2 separate regions of the Homo sapiens genome follow, and region 1 is linked to region 2. The links are contacts of gene promoters, found by promoter capture Hi-C in human tissues and cell types (Jung and others, 2019). All regions are on one chromosome and are shown on one strand. The core of a region is centred on a gene start or on the middle of the fragment in contact, and the rest is flanking DNA. Distances in the headings are between cores, read along the strand shown.

What was found. The method cuts DNA at HindIII sites, captures the fragments that hold promoters and counts their contacts. A contact is called where the count stands out against the background at its distance.
Region 1: a contact is called between a fragment that was not itself captured here and the fragment with the promoter of C11orf21 in region 2, in 2 of the 25 tissues and cell types used here (pancreas and thymus).

The regions. Positions count from the first base shown.
Region 1 is chr11:2,238,678-2,245,878 of GRCh38, reverse strand. No RefSeq gene overlaps it. Among named protein-coding and RNA genes, the nearest start is that of ASCL2, 28 kb to the left of the region's middle. The HindIII fragment of the contact is 4,327 bases long and covers 1-3,513 here.
Region 2 is chr11:2,300,668-2,305,762 of GRCh38, reverse strand. It overlaps C11orf21 (chromosome 11 open reading frame 21), which reads left to right and starts at 3,845. Exons shown (of 4, transcript NM_001329958.2): 1 at 3,845-4,007. The coding sequence starts at 3,955. TSPAN32 (tetraspanin 32) reads right to left here and starts at 3,750. Exons shown (of 10, transcript NM_139022.3): 1 at 3,548-3,750; 2 at 2,805-2,919; 3 at 1,559-1,656. The coding sequence starts at 3,613. The HindIII fragment of the contact is 20,485 bases long and covers 1-5,095 here.

The DNA.
Region 1 (7,201 bases), core at 101-2,600, 57 kb after region 2:
TCTAACAGTTTCACAGTTTTACATTTATATTAGGTTACTAATTCATTTTACATTAATGAATTTGAATACAGCTTGAGGAATTGGTCAAAGTTATTTTGTCTTTTTGCAGGTGGATATCCAATTGTTCCAGCATCATTGGTTGAAAAGATACAATTTCTCTATTAAACTGACTTTGCACCTTTGTCAAACTAGCTGTCCTCATGTGTGAGTCTATTTCTTGGCTATCTGATCTGTTCCACTGATTTACTTCTCTATCATTATGCCAGTAGAACACTGTCTTAATTATTATAATTTTATAACCTTGAAATCAGATACAGTAAGTCCTCTAAGTATGTTGTTCTGTTTCAAAGATGTTTTGGTTACTGTAGGTCCTTTGGATTTCCATAGGAATTTTAAAATCAGTTTGTCAGTTTCTACAGAAAGCTTGCTGGGGTGCTGATTGAGATTACGTTGAATCTATAGATGAATTTGTCAGAAACTGACATCCTGATAATAATTCTGAGTCTTTCAATCTAGGACTCAGTATATTTCTTTATTTATTTGGGTATTACTTGTTTTTTCTCAGGAATGTTTTATAGTTTTCAGTACACCAGACTTGTACATATTTTTTTAGATTTCTCTCGCAGTATTTTGCATTTTTATGCTAGTAAAATTTCAATGTCTGATTGTTCTTTGTGTGTTTCATGTAGATTCTGTTTGACCATCTACATAGGCAATCATTTCTTGTATAAATTAAGACAGTTTTTCTTCTTCCATTCCAATCTGGGTGTATTTGTTTCTTTTTATTTTCTTATTACACTGGGTAGAGCAGATATCTTCACCTTGTTTCCCATCTCAGGAAGAAAGCTTTCAATCGTTTACCATTAAATATGTTAGCTGTAAGTTTTTCATAGATACTCCTTATCAGGTTGAAGAAATTCCCTTTTATTCCTAATTTGCTGAGAGTTTTTATCAGGAAAGGATATTGTATATTGTTTGTTAGATACTTTTTCTTAGCATTGCGGTGGTTGATTTTATGTATCAAATTGGTTGGACTACTGTGCCTAGATGTCTGGTCAAATATTATTCTAGATGCTTCAGCTAAGGTAACTTTTGGATGAGATTAATGTTAAATTGGTGAACTCCGAGTAGGGCAGATTAACCTCCACAATGTGCAGGGTCCTTGTCTTAGTTCATTTTGTGTTGCTATAAAGAAATACCTGAGACTGGAGATCTATACAGAAAAAAGATTTATTTGGCTCATGATTCTTATGGCCGAAAATTTCAAGATTGGGCATCTGCATCATGGTGAGAGAGAAAGCAAGAGCGAGCAAAGAAGGGGAGATGCCAGGCTCTTTTAATAAACAGCAACCAGTAAAGAACTGACTCATCCTTGAGGGAGGATCTATTCAGGAGGGATCTGGCCTCATCACCAAAACACCTCCCATTAGGCCTCACCTCTAACATCGGGGATCAAGCTTCAGTATGAAGTTTGGAGGGGACAAACATCTAAACCAGGGGTGTCCAATCTTTTGGCTTTCCTGGGCCACACTGGGAAAAGAAGAATTGTCTTGGGCTACACATAAAATATACTAACACGAATGATAGCTGATGAGCTAAAAAAAATTTTGCAAAAAAGTCTCATGTTTTAAGAAAGTTTACTAATTTGTGTTGGGCTGCATTGAAAGCAGTGCCTGGCTGCATGTGGCCCATGGGCCACAGGTTGGACAAGCTTGAACCATAGTCCTCATCTAAGCAGTTGACGAAGGCCTTAACAAAACAAAGATTGACTTTCTCTAAGCCAGAAGGAATTCTGCCAGCAGACTGCTTTTGGATTTGGGCTGCAGCTTTTTCCTGGGGCTCCAGTCTGCCACTTACCCTGCCGATTTTGGATTTTCTCTCTCTTTTTCTCTCTCTCTGTGTGTCTCTCTCTCTCCACACACACACACACACACACACACACACACGCACACACCCCTGTTGGTTCTGTTTCTCTGGAGAACCCTAACCAGTGCACATATGTATATTGATAATAATATGCTTTTCCTTTTCTAGTTTCATTAATATGAAAATTTATATTGATTGATTTTTGAGTGTTAAACCAACCTTGTATTCTGAAACCACACTTGATCATGAGATATTATCCTTTTTACATATTTTCAGGCTTGATTTGATAAAATTTTGTTTAGAATTCTTGCATCTATTTTTATGACAGGTTTTAGCCTTAGTTTTCTCTTCTTGTAATGTCTTTGCCTACTTTTGGTATCAGGGTAATAATCCTGGTCTCATAGAAATGGTGAAGGAGTATTCCCTCTTCTTTAATTTTTAGAAAGAGTGTTTCTAGAATTGGTATCCTTTTTCTTTAAATGTTTGGTAAAATTTACCAGTGATGCTGTGATGTTTTCTTTGTGAATAGAATTTTTACTAGAAATTTAATTTGTGTTTGTGAGTGTATTTAGGTTATCTATTTTTTCTTGTATGAGTTTTGGTAATTTCAGTCTTTCATTGAATTTGTTCATTTTGTTTAAGATGTCAATTTATCAGAATAAAGTTATTTGTAATAGCCCGTATTATCCTTTGGATATCTGTAGAATCTGTAAATGATGTCATCTCTCTTACTTCCTAATACTGGCAGTTTCTGTCTTTTTTTTCCTGATTAATCTTGGTAGAAGTTCAGCAATTTGATTGATTTTCTCAAAAAGAATCCATTTTTGGTTTATTGATTTTTTTCTCATTTTTCCCTGTGCTTTGTTTCCTTGATTTACTTCTCGATTTTTATTGTTTCCTTCTTTCTGTTAACTTTGAATTTAATTTTGAATTGTAATTCAATTTCTTTTTGGTCAGAGAGCATACTTTGTGTTGCTTGAATCCTTTTGAAATTACTGAGACTTGTTTTATGGCCCATAGTAAGATCTGTCTCAGTAAATGCTCCTTGTGCACTTGAGAAGATTATGTATTGTGTTGTTATCAGGTGGAGCGTCCTATTAGTGTCAGCTAAATCAAGTTGATTGTTTTGTTCAAGTCTCTTATATCCTTACCAATTCTCTGTCTACTTGTTCTATTATTGAAAGAGGAATATTGAATTTCCTGTTATAATGTGAATTTGTCTATTTCTCCTAGTAATTTGGTCAGTTTTCTGCTTTATTTGTTTTAAGGCTCTGTTACTGGGTGTATAAACATTTTGATTACTAAATCCTCTTGATGGACTGACTCTTATATCATTATGAAATGACCTTTTTTGTCCCAGTAATATTCTTTGCTTTTAAATCTGCTTCCCTTATATTACCATAGCTATTCTGGCTTTGATTGGTGCTAGTTTTGCTTATGCTTTTTAAAATTCTTTTACTTCTAACCTACTTATGTCTTTATAATTAAAGTGTATTTTTGGTAGGCAGCATATATATATTTATGGGTCTTGCTTTTTCTATGCAACCCAACAATCTATGTATATTAATGAAGGTGTTTAGATCATTTATATTTAATGTAATTGTTGATATAATTGGAATTAAGTCCATTATTTTGTAATTTGTTTTATATTTGCTTCATCTGTTTTTTTCTTCAGATTGAGTATTTTTCATGATATCATTTTCTTTCCTTTGTTGGCTTATGATCTATAGCCATTTGTTTCATTATTTTAGTGGTTGCTTTAGGATTTCTAATGCATATATTTATCTTATCAGTCTTTCTTCAAGTGATATTTGACCACATCATACATAGCATAAAAACTTTACAATAGTATATTTCCATTTCTTCCCTCCTCACTTTTATGCTATTATTGTCCTGCATTTTACTTGCATATTATAAACCTCACACTATATTGTTTCTCATTATTAAGTTAATATTTAAATAAATTTTTTATTTTAGAATAGTTTTAGCTTTTCAGAAAATGTGTAAAGTTAGTACAGAGAGTTCCCAGTCTATGCCACATTCAGTTTACTCTATTGTTAACATCTTGAATTATTTTGGTATTGTTACAACTATAATTATCTTTTAAAGATATGTAAATAGCAAGATAAAAAGTACATATTTACCCATGTAGTTATCATTTCTGTGCTCTTTATTGCTTTGAGATCCATATATTTATTTGATATCACTTTTCTTCTGCGTGAAGAAGTTCCTTTAACATTTCTTACAGTGCAAGTCAGTTGACAATTAATTCTTGTAGCTTTTGTATATCTGAAAAAGTCGATTTCACTTTCATTTTGGAAGATATTTTCACTGAATAGGGAATTCCAGTTGGCAATTTATTTGCTTTCCCTATTTTAAAGATGCTGCTCACCCTTTTATTCTTTGATTTATTTCTGGTAAGAAATGTCACTCTTATCTTTCTTTCTTTCTTTGTATGTAATGTGTCTTTTTCCCCCTCTGGCTGCTTTTAAGATTTATTTTTAATACTGATTTTGAGAAATTTGATTATTATCTTCCCTAGTGTAATTTTCTTAGTGATAGTGATTCTTATGCTGGGACTCATTAAAATTTTTAGATTTGTGTGTTTATAGGTTTTCTCAAATTTGGATTTTTTTGCCTATTATGACAGTTTCAATAAAGTTTTACATTTTAGAACAGTTTTAGATTTACAGAATTGTTGCAAAGATAGTACAGGGAATTCCCATAAACCCCACACCCAGTTTGTCCTATTATCACCATCTTACATTGGTATGGAACATTATCATGGTTAATGAACCAATATGTATACATTATTATTAAGTAAAGTCTATAGTTTTTTTCAGATTCCTTCAGTTTTCCCCTAATGTTGCAGGATTCCCATCCGGGATACCATGTTACATTTAGCAGTCATGTTTCCATAGCTTCCTCCTGCTGGTGACGTTTTCTCAGACTTTGCTTTCTTTTGATGACCTTGACAGTTTTTGAGAAATACTAGTCAGGTGTTTTGTAGCATTTTCCTCAATTGGGATTTGTCTGATTTCTCAGGATTAATTTGGGATTATGGGTTTGAGTAAGATGACAGAGGTAATGCCATTCGCATCATATTAAGGCTCTATATTATCAACATGGCTTATTGCTCTTGATGTTGACTTTTATCACCTGGCCCAGGTGCTGTGATATGGTTTGCATCTACATCCTCACCCAAATCTTATGTTGAAACATAATCCCCAGTGTTGGAGGTGGGGTCTGTTGGGAGTTGATTGGCTCCTGCGGGTGTATTTCTCATGAATGGTTTAGCACCGTCCTCTTGGTGCTATCCTTGTGCTAGTGAGTGAATTCTTGCAAGGTCTGGTTGTTTAAAAAAGACCCTCCCTGTCTCTCTTGCTCCTGCTTTTACCATATCATGTACCCACTCCCCCTTCACCTTCCGCCATGATTGGATTGTAAGCTTCCTGAGGACTCCCCAGAAGCTGAGCAGATGTCAGCACCATTTCCTGTAAAACTTGCCAAACCATGAGCCAATTAAACCTCTTTTCTTTATAAATTACTCACCCTCAGGTATTTCATTATAGCAATGCAATAACGGCCTAACACATGCTGTTTGTCAGGTTTCTCCACCATTAAGTGACTCTTTTCTCCCCTTTTAATACTGTCCTCTTTGGAAGGATGTCACTAGCACAGCCCACATTTAAGGAGTGGGGAGTTATGCTCCACCTTGTTAAGGGTGAAGTAGCTACATAAATTGTTTGAAATTCTTCTGCATGGTAGATTTGTCTGTTGTCTTCCATATATTTATTTATTCAATCATTGATTTGTATCAGATTGCACTCCAGAATATTTATTTTATAATTTGGGTTATAATCCATTACTACTTCATTTATTTTGTTTTATTCAAATTGTTCCAGCTTTGGCCACTGGAAGCTCTTTCAGTTGGCTCCTGTATCCCTTTGGCATATCCCCATAATTGTAGGTATTGTCTGCAGTGCTTTCTTACTTTTTGGTACTACAAGATGCTCTAACGTGGTCTTTTTCTTTTCTTTTAACTTTTATTTTAAGTTCAGGGGTACATGTGCAGGATGTGCAGGTTTGTTACATAGGTAAACATGTGTTATGGGGGCTTGTTGTACAGATTATTTCATCAGCCAGGTAATTAAGCCTAGTATCCACCAGTTATTTTTCCTGATCCTCTCCCTCCTCCCCGCCTCCACCCCCTAGTAGGCCCAGTGTGTGTTTCCCCCCCAACCATGTGTCAACGTGTTCTCATCATTCAGCTCCCATTTTTGAGTAAGAACATGCAGTATTTGGTTTTCTGTTCCTGCATTAGTTTGCTAAGGATAATGGCCTCCTCCATCCACATCTCTGCAGAGGACAGGATCTCATTCTTTTTTGTGGCTGTGTCGTACTCCATGGTATGTGTATCTATATATACCACATCTTCTTTTTCTTTTTTTTCTTTTTTTTTTTGAGATGGAGTTTCATTCTGTCACCCAGGCTGGAGTGCAGTGAAGCGATCTTGGCTCACTGCAACCTCCGCCTTCTGGGTTCAAGCGATTCTCCTGCCTCAGCCTCCCGACTAGCTAGGACTACAGGCGTGTGCCACCACGCCCAGCTAATTTTTTGTATTTTCACTAGAGACGGGGTTTCACCGTGTTAGCCAGGCTGGTCCATGTTTTCTTTATCCAGTTTATCACTGATGGGCGTTTAGGCTAATTCCATGTCTTTGCTATTGTGAATAGTGCTGCACTGAACTTACGTGTACATGTGTCATTATGGTAGAACGATTTATATTCCTTTGGGTATATACCTAGTAATGGGATTGCTGAGTCAAATGGTATTTCTGTCTCTAGGTCTTTGAGGAATCACCACACTGTCTTCCACAATTGTTGAAATAATTTACATTCCTACCAACAGTGTAAAAGCATCTAGGGCCATCGTATATATTTCCTGTGCTATTCCTAGAATCAGCTATTTTTTCCAAGATTTCTTTTACTGGAGAGTGGTATTTGATACCAAGATCTGGTGCTCATTGCTACTGGGATTTCTTTGCTTTTAGGCCCTCTCAGCGGACAGAGAAAGGAAATATATGTGTATACATTAGCATGTGTATATGCACACATCATAGTATTTCTAAATGTAACCATCTGTGTCTATATTACGCTAACCATCGGTTGATACTGATGTCTCTAACTGTACTCCTGCCCCACATGGATTTTTCTAGTCTCTCCTTGCTCATCTGTAACCTTCTACTGCAACCATAAGACACTCGGTTCCCACCATTTTACTTCCACTTACTTAACTGTCCAATTCCAGAATACGTATTCTGGAATGATATCTG
Region 2 (5,095 bases), core at 2,596-5,095:
GTTGGGGGCCTCCAAGGCTGCTCTACAGGCCTGACCCACATGTCAAGTCACCCTGGCCTTGGGGCTGGCTGGGGACACAGAACCTGAGCCCAGGTGCTCCCTGACCGCCTTGGCCACAGATGAGGGTGCTAGACTGGTTTGTGCACGGGGGCAAGGTGGGGTGGGAAAGGCTGGTGACTGGGACAGGAGCCCCGTGGCCCAGCGGCTGGCTTCTGCATATGTGGCCTCAAGCCCAGCACCATGGCACCCCCTGGTGGACGGTACTGCAGCCCCAGCGCTGGTTCTTTCTGGGCCTCCAGCTCTGACCTGGACCCCTTGGCCTGGCCCTGTTGCCAACCTTTTCTTCCATCCAGGTGTCCCTTTGCAGGCCACACACCCTCTGGGGGGGGGGGCAGACTACCTGCCTTGTCATCTCCCCACTGGGGCCTCCCACCTGGCCCTGAAGCCAGATAGCACAGGCCGGGGTTGTCCCTGCCCATGCTCGTGTGCCCCGGAGCAGGAATCCTGGCTAGTGCTGGAGCTGCTGGGTCCTCCTCTGCCCACCATGGGCCCACCCAGGGCTGGTTGGCCCGGCAGCAGCTCCAGGAGGTGACTCTATTCCTATTCTTGGAGACATTTATAAACCAGGGTCATTAAACAAGCATTTGCTGAACTTGAAGGCTGAGCTGAAAACCCTGCCAGCCCTGGGGACCCAGGAGGCTCTGCCCTCAGGGACCCCCAGAGTGGTCCAGCTTCACAGGCTAAACAGGGAAGCAAAGCCCCCAGCACAAGCTCCTCATGGCTGGAAAGGGGAGACGGGAGGCTAGAGGGACAGGTGGGAGCCCGGGGCGCCAGGGAGGAGCTGCCCCAGCTGGGGTGAGAGAAGAGGGCTGTGGGCCTAGCAGGGGCAGGACAGGCGTGGGGAGGCTGCCGCCAGGTGGGGTCTGCGATGACCATCGAGTGGCAGGGACCAAGACAGAAGCCCATGGGGAGGAGTAGGAATGAGGGTGACAAGAGGCCACTGCTATGGGGTGGGGTGGAGGGGCCTATGGGACCTCGGGGCTGGGGAGACACCTCCGGCAGCTGGGAAGGAGAGTGTGCAGCTCCGGAGAGCCCAGGCTGGAGAGCTCAAGGGGCGTTTCCTGAGCCTGGCCCGGCCTCCTCCGAACAGGAAATGGGATGCTCCCAGTGCCCTCCCAGAGCTTGCTGGGCAATAGAACCAGACCCTCCCAGGGACTTTGGAAACAGCTCCCAGGGTCAGGAGGGCCGTCTCTCTCTTTCAGAGCTCCTATAGGAACCCTTGTTGGGCGTGTAGATGACAGGGTGAGGTAGGGCCTGGTGGAGGGGCCTTGGCTACCCAGGTAGGGGGTCTCGGCTGGCTAGCATCCCTGGGGCCTCTGTTTCTGCCTAGATACTCAGGTGTGGGGTTGACGTGGGGGTCTCGGCTGGCCAGCATCCCTGGGGCCTCTGGTTCTGCCTGGTCACTCAGGTGTGGGGGTGGCACACAGCCCTGCCAGCTCTTCACTCCTTTCTAATTCTTTTCTGGGGGCCTGGGCATCTGGGAACACAATGAACTCACCCCTGCCATGAGGCCCTGGGCCTCCCTCACGGTGGCTGCAGCGCTCAGCACGGCTCCCAGAGTCAGGAGGCCCACCAGGCTCAACCCCGCAGAGAAGGCTGGTTGGGAGGAGAGAGGAGGAGGGTTAGGGGTGCCCAGGACAGGTCCTGAGTGCACACAGCCTGGGTGTGAAATCTAACTTGGGAGTCAGGGGCCGTGAGGGACTCCTGGGGGGCTCTGAATGGGCCTGTCTCTCCATCAGACGGCCCTGAGGGAAGGAGGAGGGAGGTGGGACTCGTTCAGCCTGGGGGACTGCCCCTCCTTCCCTCTTTTCCTCCCTGCCCTCCATGCCTGTGGGGCTATCTTGGAAGCCACATGCTCCCTGCCATGCCCTAGTGACAAGTGGCCGGACTGGAGCTGTAATCTTATCAGTCTGGACCTGGACCTGGGCCCCAGGCATCCTCCTGCCATGTCCTAGTGACAAGTGGCCGGACTGGAGCTGTAATCTTATCAGTCCGGACCTGGACCTGGGCCCCAGGCGTCCTCCTCCAGGGAGGCCCTGGTCCTAGGACTTGGGGAAAAGCATTGGGTTCTAAGGCAGTATCCCTGACCTCCTGGGCCTCAGTTTCCCTACATCTGCCCACCGGGCTGCAGCCTTCCTGGGCCCCCTGAGCTCCTGCCTGAGAGTCCCCTGCAGATCTGGCTCTGACATCCCCTCATTAAAGGGGCCTTCCTCAGCCTTACCCCTGAGTGGCCCCAGCAGGCTCTGGCCCTCGCTCCCGCTCTCTGGATGTTGGATAAGTCGCTGCTGAGTCCCTGCAGGGAGGCGTCTGGCTAGAGCAGCCCCCACCCCCTCCCCACCCACATCCCAGGTCCTGAGTGGAACATCAGCCATGTGGAGCCCTCATGGACCTGCTGTGCCCAGCCCCAGGCCAGTCCCAGGCCTGCCTGGGACTGAGCCCTGACTGCACAGAGCCAGGTCCTGACCGCACAGAGCCACTTCCTGACCCTGCCCGACATATACCCACACTGTGCCCACGCTCCTGTGGGGCACGAGAACCAGGCAGGAACACTGGCTGTCACCCAGACCCGAGGCCCTGCCCAGGGGAGCTAGGACTCCAGGGCAGCCCCTCCCTGCCCCTGACCACCTCTGGCTCCTGCCTAGGGCCTGGCACCATTCTGGCTGTGAGGCGTCCAGCTGGGCTCGTGCCAGCCACCCTTGCACCCGAGGCCCCTCCCGATGCAGCCAGGCCTGGACCTCACTTACCCCATTGGTGCACAGCCTGGTACGGGTTCTTCTCCAGGGACGCTCGGCGGATGACAGCAAAGTGGGCCCCGAAGTAGGTAAGAGTCACCATGGTGGCCACAGAGAGGCCCAGCAGCTGTGGATAGGGCAGACTCAGAGTGTGGGGCATGGGACTGCTGCAGGAGCAGGGAGCTCGGCCCCAGCGGGCAGGGTTGGGGCTCTCTCCAGCTTCCCGGTCCCGTGAGAGACAGGCTCAGCTGCAGGGATTCCCGGTGTTTCCGTGGAGTGGTCTCAGGAGGCCTTCACTGCAGACGCCCCAGCACACTCACAGGCACCCCCACATGGTAGACGCATACACGCACAGCCCAGCTTCCCCAGACACCCAGGACCTCTGATCATTGTGTCTACGGAGTGGGAGTGAGCCCCACCCCTGTGCCAGCACCCTCCGGGGCAGGAAGGGGAGAAGATCCCTGGAGCCCGGCAGCCAGTGCCCCTCCACCCCAGCTCGCCCCAGGCCTCAGCCCCACTCAGGCCTCCTCCAGGCTCTGTGCTGCCCCTCAGGAGGAGAGACGGGGTTGCTCATGGTGGTCCCTGCCTGCCTGCGGCTGTCTGCAAGGGCAGGACACATGTCTGCAAGGGCAGGACAGGGACAGTAGGGCTGGTGTGTGTGTCAGGGGAGGGATAATCCCTGTGCTGAGGCCCTGCCACCCCTCACCCCTGCTCACCCCCACCCACCACCCACTCCTGCCCGACCTGCCTGTTACCAAGATAAAGAAGCAGGTGACCAGCATCTGGCATTTGGCAACCCTGACTCGACTCCAAGGCCCCATGACGGTTCCTCTCCTCTCCTCTCCTCCCCTCCCTTCCCCTCCCTGTGGTTTCCAGCTGGGCAGGGGCCTCAGACCGCAGCTCACTGCCCAGGAGGTAGGCTGCATCCGCCCCTCTGTCTGTCTGTCAACATCGCCCTAGGACCGAGCTGCTGGGTGCCCCGGAAGAAGGGCAGGCAGGAAGGGGAGGGGCAGTGAGGTTGGCTCCCCCCACCACCTCACCCTGGTGCCCCCAGCCCAGCCCAAGACACCAGGGCATTTGCTGACATCTGAGGCCCTTCCCAGGAAGACATGGCCTCGTTCTTGGTGTGGCCACTGAGGACGGCGCTGAGAGGGGGAAAGTCATGGGCAGGACCTGGTGTGGGATGTGGAGGAGACGGCGCCCGGGGAGGAGGAGGTGAGCTCCCCGTCCTGGGAGTGAGCAAGTGTGGACTGGGCCTTGGGGGCGTAATCCTTGGAGGAATTTGGATGGGGTCTCCTTGGAACATCATTATTGAGGTGTTCTTAGGAAACACCCTTTGAAATGTCCTGTGACAGCTTAAGTTTTGAGAAGGTCGTTGGTTTTAATGCCTTCGTGGGCGGCACTCATGGATATTTTGTCGCAGAGCCTTCTTGGGGCCACAGGGGTGGGCTGGGGCCTCGCTCACACTCACGTGGGGCCTCCAGGGGGAGGCTTTGTAAACCTCGAATTTGCAATTACACCGAGCCGTGTAATTACGTATGGGTGGGGGCAGCGCTGCGGCCCCAGTACAGGCAGGGTTTCCGTGGGCCTCTGGGGCAGGGTGGGCCTGAAGAGGGTGAAAATGTTCCAGGTGAATCCATCATTCAGGGACCACTCCGGGCCCTCCCAGGAGTGCTAACAGGCGGCTCTGCTCGCCCCTCGGTGCTGGAATTGCTCCTCCTGCATTTGGTCAGGACCTCATCAAGGGGGAGGGGGCCCCAAGACCTGCAGGCATGGCAACCCCAGCGTGGCTGTGGGAAGAGGGCCCAGCTGCCGCCCGCTCAGGAACGCTGCTGGAGGAACTGCTGAGGCCACCGCCTCCCTCCCTCTGCGGAGGGAGAACCAGGAGAACCAGGAGGGACAACCAGGACCCCCGTCCAGCCCAGCACCCCCAGGCAGCACCCTCTGCAGCTCTGGCCCCCAGGAATTCCCACCCTGAGTCTGTGGGGGCTTGTGGAGACCTCAGATGCCTGGCACCCACAGTGTCACTTCAGCTGGGGGCCTAGGTGTGGCTCAGACTGGGGCGCAGGTATGAATGTAGGGGTGGCAACAAGAGTGAAGGTACCAGGTCTAGGGGCAGGAGGCCCCCGGGCTGTGCAAGTGGGCAGCCCGTCCTCTCCAGGGAAGATGAGCTGCTCTTGGCTATGTCTGGTTCGCCCCTAGAATTGTCTCTCTCCAACCTTGACCTCCCTGGAGCTGGTGAGGCGGGCCTGGAGCACCACCCGCTTCTGGGACACCTCTTCATCAGGTCTGAAGAATTTCGG